Linked DNA regions of Homo sapiens: region 1 is linked to region 2. Evidence: promoter capture Hi-C in 16 types of primary human blood cells and fetal thymus (Javierre and others, 2016). All regions are on one chromosome and are shown on one strand. Each heading gives the region's core, a stretch centred on a gene start or on the middle of the fragment in contact. The rest is flanking DNA. Distances are from core to core; before and after follow the strand shown. Region 1 has its middle 12 kb from the start of NPR2. Region 2 holds the start of OR13J1 (olfactory receptor family 13 subfamily J member 1).

Region 1 (5,201 bases), core at 1,955-4,454, 90 kb before region 2:
GCCTGTAATCCCAGCACTTTGGGAGGCCAAGGTGAGCAGATCATGAGGTCAGGAGATCGAGACCATCCTGGCTAACACGGTGAAACCTCGTCTCCACTAAAAATACAAAAAATTAGCCGGACGTGGTGGCGGGCGACTGTAGTCCCAGCTACTCAGGAGGCTGAGGCAGGAGAATCGCTTGAACCTGGGAGGTGGAGCGTCCAGTGAGCCGAGCTGGCACTACTGCACTCCAGCCTGGGTGACAGAGTGAGACTCTGTCTCAAAAAAAAAAAAAAAATTTGCTTTGTGGAAAATCAAAATAATTGAATTTATTCTTGGGCCAGATATACCCCAACCAATCTTAGCTTTGTTTTTATGACATTATACATGAAGTTATCTAAATCAGGTGTTTTTCTTTTTTTTTTTTTTTTTTTTGAGACAGAGTCTTGCTCTGTCACCCAGGCTGGAGTGCGGTGGCATGATCTTGGCTCACTGCAAGCTCCGCCTCCCAGGTTCACACCTTTCTCCTGCCTCAGCCTCCCCAGTAGCTGGGACTACAGGTGCCCACCACCATGCCTGGCTAATTTTTTGTATTTTTAGTAGAGATGGGGTTTCACTATGTTAGCCAGGATGGTCTCGATCTCCTGACCTCGTGATCCACCCTCCTCAGCCTCCCAAAGTGCTGGGATTACAGGCGTGAGCCACTGTGCCAGGCCTAAATCATGTTTTGTGGTTTTTTTTTTTTTTGTACTTGTTTCTTTCATTTATTTATTTTTATATATATAGAGAGAGAGATAGGGTCTTGCTATGTTGACCAGGCTGGTTTCAAACTTTGGCCTCAAATGATCCTTCCATCTTGGCCTCCCAAAGTGCTAGGATTACAGGTGTGAGCCAACGCGCCCAGCCTGGTACTTGTTTCTTGTAAGATGTTCTAGTTCTAACTCTTCTTCTTCAGACCTACTGATCTTGGATTATACTTTTTGTAATACTTTATCTTTTGGTTCCAAATGACTGGTTTTCAGAAAAGCCTTCTTAGCTCTGATGTTACCGTTCTGCCCTTTGATGTTTTTAATCTCCTTGCTACAGCTATGAGGGATTCACCATGTGTGTTTATCTATTAAAAGAAATCCCATCTTTCCCTTTGAGGTCCCATTGCCATCCTTTAAAACATTCAAGATATCAAGCACCCCATATCAATGACATATTTTTATGCTTTCTTGTTTATGATTAAGATTCATTTTTAATTAAAAATTTTGAATAGGTCATACTTGCACACCTGTTACAAAATTAAAGCTATACAAAATGGGCCAGGCGCGGTGGCTCATGCCTGTAATCCCAGCGCTTTGGGAAGCCGAGGTGGGCAGATCACCTGAGGTCGGGAGTTTGAGACCAGCCTGATCAACATGGAGAAACCCCGTCTCTACTAAAAATACAAAAAAATTGGCCGGGCGTGGTGGCGCATGCCTGTAATCCCAGCTACTCGGGAGGCTGAGGCAGGAGAATCACTTGAACCCGGGAGACAGAGGTTGCAGTGAGCCAAGATCATGCCATTGTTCTACAGCCTGGGCAACAAGAGCGAAATTCTGTGTCAAAAAAAGGTATACAAAATGATAGATAATGAAAAAACTGTCTCTTTCATCTTGCCCTTTAGATACCTTGTTCCCCTTCAGGGAGGTATTCGCTGTTAACAGTTTCCAGTCCAAAAGCTACGTTTTAAAGCATAATTAAATTTCTGGCCCCTTCTCTAAAGTCCCTCAATTATTAATCATATTAACTCTGTAGAAGGATGTATCACAACATTATACTGAAAAATAAGCTGAATATACAAAAGTGTTCAAGCAGTCAGAATACTTTGGAATATAATATGACATGTCAAACTGGTGTCTGACATGGATGGCTTCTGGGTGGATGCAAGTCCCTAAATGTCCAGCCTTCCTTTTGTGCATTGGCTTTGCCTGCCTACATACCCACTCCCTCCTCTCGAATGCACAAATAATGCACATTCGCCTTCCTGTTTGCTTTCTCTTAAGCCCAAGGCTTGTTAATCTGGGATCCTTTAGCTCCTAGATCCACGTGCACCTGAAATGATATGTAAAATGTTGTGGAATAATATGTATATGTGCTTTTTATATTTTAATGGGGAAAAGAGAGTATACATGGCTTTCATCTGATGTTCTATCTCCAGTCTATCTCTGTCTTCTTTATTCTGCCTGAACTTTCAAACTCCTGGTTCCTTCTGTCACTCAAAAGATGACTTTGCTTCCCCATTGAGGAATGCAGTTGAGCTCCTTATTTCATATAACCTTCCCTTCATTTCAATATATTATAGAGGATGTTGAGTAAGGTTTTTTTCTATTGCCCTGGAATTGGTGACTAGGGTCCAAAGCTGGGACAAAGAGGACTAAATACTGCACGTTCTAGAGAGAGTTGCTAATAATTGGATCAGAGCTCCTCTCCAGGGCTTACAAAGAGGTAGCAGAAGTGGCCCTGCAACTTCCAGCCAACCCATACCTTACCACCCCACCTCCATTCCCAGGCTATATAAGATAAAAGATGACTGAAGGGAGGCTGTCATGAGCCTAGCAGGGAGTACTTTTCCCTCCTTTCCCCCCTTAAAGTAAGCAAGGGAGTATGAAAGAGATCTACATGAAAGAGAGATTGATTTCTCATTCCTTGGTTAAACTATCTGTTTAGACAGTGGATTTGTTCAGCTCCGCACCTGTCTGAGAAGAGGAAAGGCAATTAGAGAAAGGAGGAAGGGCAGAGTAAGGGGATAGTAGTGGAATAGTCTGCATTCATTCTGTTTGGCTTAGCAAGGGTATGTGAGTTTCTGTGATCAAAGGGACACTGAGGAAGATCGCCGGGCTTGAGCCATCATGCTGGTAACCCATCCAAAAGGCTGCCACTGAACAGAAGTTAGGAGGGTTAAAGAGATGGCTTGGATCAGGATTCTCTGCATTAGGGCACAACTCAGTGGAGAAGCCCAGTAGGACCTTCTAAAGAACTCACATAACTGTCTCATAAGAGAGCCAGCATCTTTTTTTTTAAGATGGGGTCTGTTGCCTAGGCTGGGGTATAGTGTTGTGATCATGGCTTATTGCAGCCTGAATCTCTTGGGCACAAGTGATCCTCCTGCCTCAGCCTTCTGAGTATCTGGGACTGCAGGTTATGTGCCACCACACTCGGCTAATTAAAAAAAAATTTTCTTAGAGACAGGGTCTCTCTACGTTGCCCAGGCTGGTCTCAAACTCCTGGGCTCAAGTGATCCTCCTGCCTCAGCCTTCCAATGCCTTGGGCTTACAGGCATGAGCCACCATGTGCAAGAAAGATAGCATTTTGACATCTGCCAAACAACAGGTTGGCATGGTCTGTCAGCAAACAGTGGTTTGTGATAACTACCTTGTTAAATAAAAAGAGAGTTGTTCTTTTCCTCCCTGCCCTCCTCCTAGTTCTCAACCACCAAGGAGCTAAAACCCTTCTAGAGAACCTTCCAGAGAACTAGAAGAGGAGAAGCAGAATCAATAGAAGGGATCATATTCTTCTCTCCACCGCAGGTTCCTTAAGCCATGGCTTAAGATGAGTTCTGCATTGGACCTGAGACTGGAGTTTTAAGCCATATCGGACTGAGTCTTTAAATAACCAAAAGGGAGCAGAGTGTTATGGACTCTGACCATGATGTTGTGAAGAGGTACAAAGGAGACATTTGTCATGGCACAGATGAAGACTGATGGGTGGCAGGTTATGTTTATACCTGACCAAGCTCAATGCTCAACAGATAAGTTAAATTTATCCGTCACGAAATCTATCCCTGAATCCATTGTTCCACCTTTCCCTGCAGTCTCAGAGGAATTTCTTTTTCTTTTAAAGTGAATCCCTGGCTGGGCACGGTGGCTCACACCTGTGATCCCAGCACTTTGGGAGGATGAGGAGGGTGGATCACTTGAGCTCAGCAGTTTGAGATCAGCCTGGGCAACATGGTGAAACTCCATCTCTACCAAAAATACAAAACAAACAAACAAACAAACAAAAAACAACCAGGCGTGGTGGTGTGCATCTGTGGTCCCAGCTATTTGGGAGGCTGAAGTGGGAGGATTGATTGAGTCTCGGGGGATGGAGGTTGCAGTGAGCCAAGATGGCGCCACTGCACTCCAGCCTGGGTAACAGAGTGAGACTCTGTCTCAAAATATGACCAAATAAATAAAAATAAAGTGAATCCCTTCATCCATACTCATATATCCATTGAGAAAACATTTATTTGAATTCTAAAATATACTGCCAATGTAAGGTACAAAGATTAAGGACGATAAAATTCCTTCTCATGGAATACACAATCTAATGGGGCAGAAAGTACCTACTTTAAAACAAATGTATTAAATTAAATTGAAAAGTGGCCTGAGTAAGCCTCAAAAAAGACTAATTAGAACTCAAGGGAAGAGAAAACATTTCAGGCTGACAGAAAACCCATGGGCATAGAATAACATGACCCACTTAGAGGACTATAGATAGCTCTATATGTTTAGAAGGCATATGTGGCTGCAGAGGAGGCTGGAGAGGAAGATGGAGCCAGGACCACCTGGTGGACTGAGATTCTTGTTCTCCATCCTGCAGGCTAGTGGCTCTGAACAGCAGTAGTACTTTTCCTGGAGGGGCATTTTGGTCCGTGGTGGGTGCGCAGGAGATAGTGGGGGTGGGGGGAGGGGGTGGGGGGGCAGGCAGGAGGGGGTGGAGGGGAAGGGGCATTTTCTTGGTTGCTATAGTGATGAGAGTGGGTGCTACTGGCATTGTAGTAGTTGGAGGCCGCAGATGTTAGACTCTGCAATGTGAGGACAGTTCCACATAATTAAGAATGTATTCCATGAGAGAAGGAATTTCACCTTGTTTTGGTTGTTAATCCTTGTACCTTGACACTGGCAATACCTTTTAGGTGTCAAATAAATGTCCTGAATTCGGCATGATTTAGATATCCTGAGTTCTGCACAGTCTTCAAATATTCCACCAAACAGTTGTGTAGGGTGTTATATATAAATATATATATAAATACATCTGTTCTGTTATTGCTTATCCTAACACTGGTGTTTAATCCAGTATCTTTCTTTATGGAGTGGCTTCAGATCTCTTAAATCAAAATTTATTCATTCCCTGTAATTAGATGGAAGCATCTAATTACAATTAGCTGAGTGCCTCCTTTGGTGTTCTATCACAGTTATATCCAACCATTTACA
Region 2 (4,632 bases), core at 249-2,748:
GAGAAGTGTGCTGGGGATAGGGGAGGGGGTGCTGCCTCGTGGGGAGAAACAAGGAGAGCACAGAGCTGGGTGGTGCAGGGCATGTGGGGGCCACAACTGGCTGGTGTGTGTGGCTGTGAGGAGGGAGATGGGGTGGGAGGGGAGGAAGGCTGGGGAGCCAGTCAGGCAGGGCCAGCTTGTGAGGGCCTCAAATGCCCCACTGAAAAGCTTCCACTTTGTTCTGAGAACAGTGGGGAGCCACCTAGGGATTTCAGTGAGAAGAGTGATGCAATCACATGTGCATTTCAAAAAGATGCCCCATGAAGGAGAGATTGGAGGGAGGAACAGGACTGAAGTCTTGGGACCAGCCAGGAGGCTGGTGTGAAGGCCAGGGTGATGCTGAGAGCAGAGGGTGATTTGGGGGCTGTTCTGTGGCAGGATCAGCGGGACTTGGTGCTGCCTTGCTGGGATGAAGATACCAGACCTGTAGCCCCAGCCCTGCCATGTCTTCACTGGCATTGGCATACGATGGCCTCAGCTACTAACCTGAGACCTGCGTCTGTACAGAGCCCCGCCCTCCCTCACCTGGAGGCCCGACTCCTGCCCCACACCTTCCTGGCGGCCTCCTTCACCTCCTTGTTCCTCAGGCTGTAGATGGTGGGGTTCAGCATGGTCGTGACCATGGCATAGAGGACTGTGAAGACCTCATCAGAGATGTGGGCTTCCTTACTCTTGGGCTTCAAGTACATGAAGATGATGGTGCCGTAGAAAAGCAGCACTACAGCCAGGTGTGCCAAGCAGGTGGAGAAGGCTTTGCAGCACCTGGCGGCCGAGGGCACCCTCAGGATGGTGGCCAGGATGAGCAAGTAGGACAGGCAGATGAATGCCAGGGGTACAGGCAGCAGCAGGATGGAGCCCGCCAGCAGGAAGTCTTCGCTGACCGACGTGTTGCCGCATGCCAGCTTCAGCACTGCCAGGATCTTGCAGGTGAAGTGACTGACCACGTGGTGGCCACAGAAGGGCAGCCTCATGGAGATGACCATCTCAGTCACCGACTTGAGGAGGCAGAGGACCCAGGCAGCTCCCATCAGCAGCACGCAGAGCCGGTGGCTCATGAGCACGTGGTACCTGAGTGGCTGGCAGATGGCCAGGTAGCGGTCATAGGCCGTGATGGCCAGTAGCAGGCACTCCGTGGAGCCCGTGGACAGGCTCAGACACATCTGGATGGCACAGACAGCAAAGGAGATGGTCTTCCGGGATGACAGGAGGTGGACCAGCATCAGAGGCACAAAGGTGGGCGTGTAGCAGATGTCCAGGGTAGAGAGGTTGCCCAGGAAGAAGTACACGGGCGTGTGCAGGTGGATATCTAGCACGCTCACCGCCATGATGGCTGTGTTCCCCAGGAGGGTCACCAGGTACATGGCTGAGCACAGAGGGAAGAGCAGATGCTCCAGGGCTGGGTAGCCAGAAAATCCTTTCAGAAAGAACTCGGACACCTCTGTTCTGTTGAGCGGCTCCATGCTGCAGAGTTCTGAAGAGATGGTCCACAGCTGGGATGGAAGGAGAGAGGGTACAGGGTGCGGGGAAGCTCACAGAGCCCTTTCTGGGACGAGGTGGACTGTCAGGATCTTTTCCAGCACTGCCACACTCACTGTCTGTGACGTCGGGCAATCCCTTTATCCTCTCTAGGCCTCAGTTTATCCATGTGAAAAATGAGCATTGATTTAGATCAGCATTCCCTGAGAGAATGTTAATGAGAACATTAGTAAGCAATCTGAAAAATCAATTTGAGACAACATTGGATTAATAAAAAATAAAGCTCTTTACTGCAGGACTTCTCAGAGCGTTTACTACGCTAATGTGATCTATGACTCCTGCAAAGCAATGTAGAACATCTGTACCCCAAACTTATTTGATCATGGATCCCCTTTTACAGAAAACCCATTAACCTACTGCAGATAAGTGTTCTATGAGCATAGTCTGGGAAACAGTAGGCTAGATCAACAGTTCTCAAACTTTAACATGCACCAGAATCACCTGGAAAGTTTGTTAAAACAGATTGTTGGGCCCCAAACCCAGTTTCTGACTCGGTGCGTCTGGGCGATGCTTCTGCTGCTGATGTAGGTACCACACTTTGAGGAACTAGTGGGCTAGGTGGTCTCTGAGCAGGTGGAGATTCTCCTGGCTTTAAGGAAGCCTCTGAGCCATCGCATTTGCTATTCCTTCTGTCTGGAATGTCCTCGGCCTGCAGTGGTCTGACCTGTCTCTTCAGGCCTACTCTAGTATCCATGAACAAAGCATACACCGTGCTGTGTGTTGGAGGGCTGCTGACCTTGAAGCCTATCGCTGGGCATGTTCCCCTGTCCCCTGCCCAGGGCCTGTTTCATTAGCTACCCTGTGTGGATTGGACCTTCACAATCTGCCTTCCTGTGGGTTTCCCAGCTAAAATCTGATGGAGCTTTTGGCCCAGCTCCAAACCCCTATGTTCTGTGGGCCAGAGCGAGGGCTGCTTTGACTTCATGAACTCCTAGGGTATTAGCATGGAACATGACCAGAGGCCAACTTGTTGGATCTCCCATTGTATAGATGGGGATGCTGAGGTCACACAACAGGTCTCTGGTGAGGTGAAGCTAGAATCCAGCCCTCCCAACAGTGTGACCCCTATACCATGCTCAGAGCAGGTGTATGCTTCTATTAGGTTTCAAACAATGCTTGTTCTTTTACCATTCTAGATGGATATCAGTGCCCCAGGTGCTGCCACAATCCTCTCACCAGCAAAAGAGCATGAGTCACCTCTCCTTAGTGTTCCAGGGTATCTGGCACGGTGTCATTAATCCCATGGGACACGATGCCAAATCCTGGGCCTGGGTGGAGCACAGTTCCTCTCAGTGCCTTCCTTGCAGGAGACCATTTCCGTCTTTTATTCCACCCTCACTTACTCATCCCAGAACCTAGAAGTAACTGAGGACCTGCTACATGTCAGGTGGTGCCAGATGTGAGGGAGCACTGATGACAGGTGTGCTCCCAGGCTGCTGAGTGCAAACCCTTCCTAGGCAGAGAGGACCCCCAAGTCTTCCATACCCAGCCTCACCGTCCCCCCACTCTTCCGTACCCAGCCTCACCCACCCCTCCCACTCTCCCATACCCATCCTTGTCCTCCCCCACCCTCCCATACCCAGCCTCCCCCTCCCCTGACTCTTCCATACCCAGCCTCACCCACCCTTCCCACTCTCCCATACCCAGACTCACCCTCCCCCCACTCTCCCATACCCAGCCTCACCCACCCTTCCCACTCTCCCATACCCAGCCTCACCCTTCCCTCACTCTTCCATACCCAGCCTCACCCACCCTTCCCACTCTCCCACTTTTCCAAAAGTAACTATTGTTATTAGTTTTGTGTATATCTATCCAGATACTTTTCTGGCCATTTGCATATGTATATCTATACATGGAAATAGGTCTTGTGACTTTTTAGTATGCTTTTTTGTTGCAGCTTTATTGAAGGATGGTTGATGTACAACTATATTTAAATCATATAATTTGATTAGTTTTAATGTATACAGTCATGAAACCATGACCACAATCAAGATAATGAACTTATCTAATATACCCACAATTTTTCTCATGCCCCTTGGTAATCCATTCCTTTCTTCCCCAACCAGGCAGCCACTGATTTGCTCTCTGTAACTGTAGATTACTTTCATTTTCTAGCATTTTACATAAAGGGAATTATGCAGAATGTACTCTTTTTAAAATCTGGCTTCTTTCACTCAGCGTGATTATTTTGAGAGTCATCCATGTTGTGTGAATCAATGGTTAGTTCTTTTTAAAAATAGCATCTTTATTGAGCTATAATTCAAACACCATGCAGCCGCCCATTTAAATTCACCCATTTAAAATGTACAATTCAAATACAAAACTATTGCATTGTACACTTTAAATGGGTGAGTTTAAAGTGTACAACGGGTGAATTTAAAGTGTACAATGCAATAGTTTTGAGTATCACCACAGTTGATTTTAGAACATGTTTATCACTTCCAAAGGAAGCCCATACCCTTTAGCCATCACTCCCCTTTTCCCCTCAACCTCCTCCAGTCTTAGGAAACCATTAATCTACTTTTTGTCTCTTTTGAGCTGCCTATTCTGGACATTTTACATAAATGAAATTATAAAATATGTTTCCCTTTGTGACTGGTTTCTCTTACTTAGCTTAATGTTTTCAAGGTTCATCTATATTGTAGCATGTATCAGGACTTACTTTCTTTTTATTGCTAATTAATATTCAGTTGTATGGATATACCACATTTTATGTGCCCATTCATCAGTTGATAGACATTTGGGTTGATTCCACTTTTTGACTGTTACGAATAGTGCTGCTATGAACATTTGCATACAAGTTTTTGTGTGGATGTATATTTTCATTTTTCTTGGATATTTTCTTAGGAGTGGAGTTTCTAGGTCATATAGAAACTCTATGTGTATATTTTTGGGGAACTGCCAGTTTCCAAAATGGAAAGTATCATTTTACTTTCCCATTTTACATTTCCCCAATATGTGAGGGTTTCAATTTCTCCACATCCTCACCAACAATTGTTATTATCTGCTTTTTAAATTATAGCCATCTTGGTTGGGTGTGGTGGCTCACGCCTGTAA

Evidence for each region. The method cuts DNA at HindIII sites, captures the fragments that hold promoters and counts their contacts. A CHiCAGO score of 5 or more calls a contact.
Region 1: a contact is called between a fragment that was not itself captured here and the fragment with the promoter of OR13J1 in region 2, in 1 of 17 cell types (neutrophils). The highest score is 5.6, in neutrophils.

The regions. Positions count from the first base shown.
Region 1 is chr9:35,776,734-35,781,934 of GRCh38, forward strand. It overlaps a transcript of RGP1 not described here. Among named protein-coding and RNA genes, the nearest start is that of NPR2, 12 kb to the right of the region's middle. The HindIII fragment of the contact is 8,666 bases long and covers 1-5,201 here.
Region 2 is chr9:35,868,903-35,873,534 of GRCh38, forward strand. OR13J1 (olfactory receptor family 13 subfamily J member 1) reads right to left here and starts at 1,499. Exons shown (of 1, transcript NM_001004487.1): 1 at 561-1,499. The coding sequence starts at 1,499. The coding sequence ends at 561. The HindIII fragment of the contact is 7,651 bases long and covers 206-4,632 here.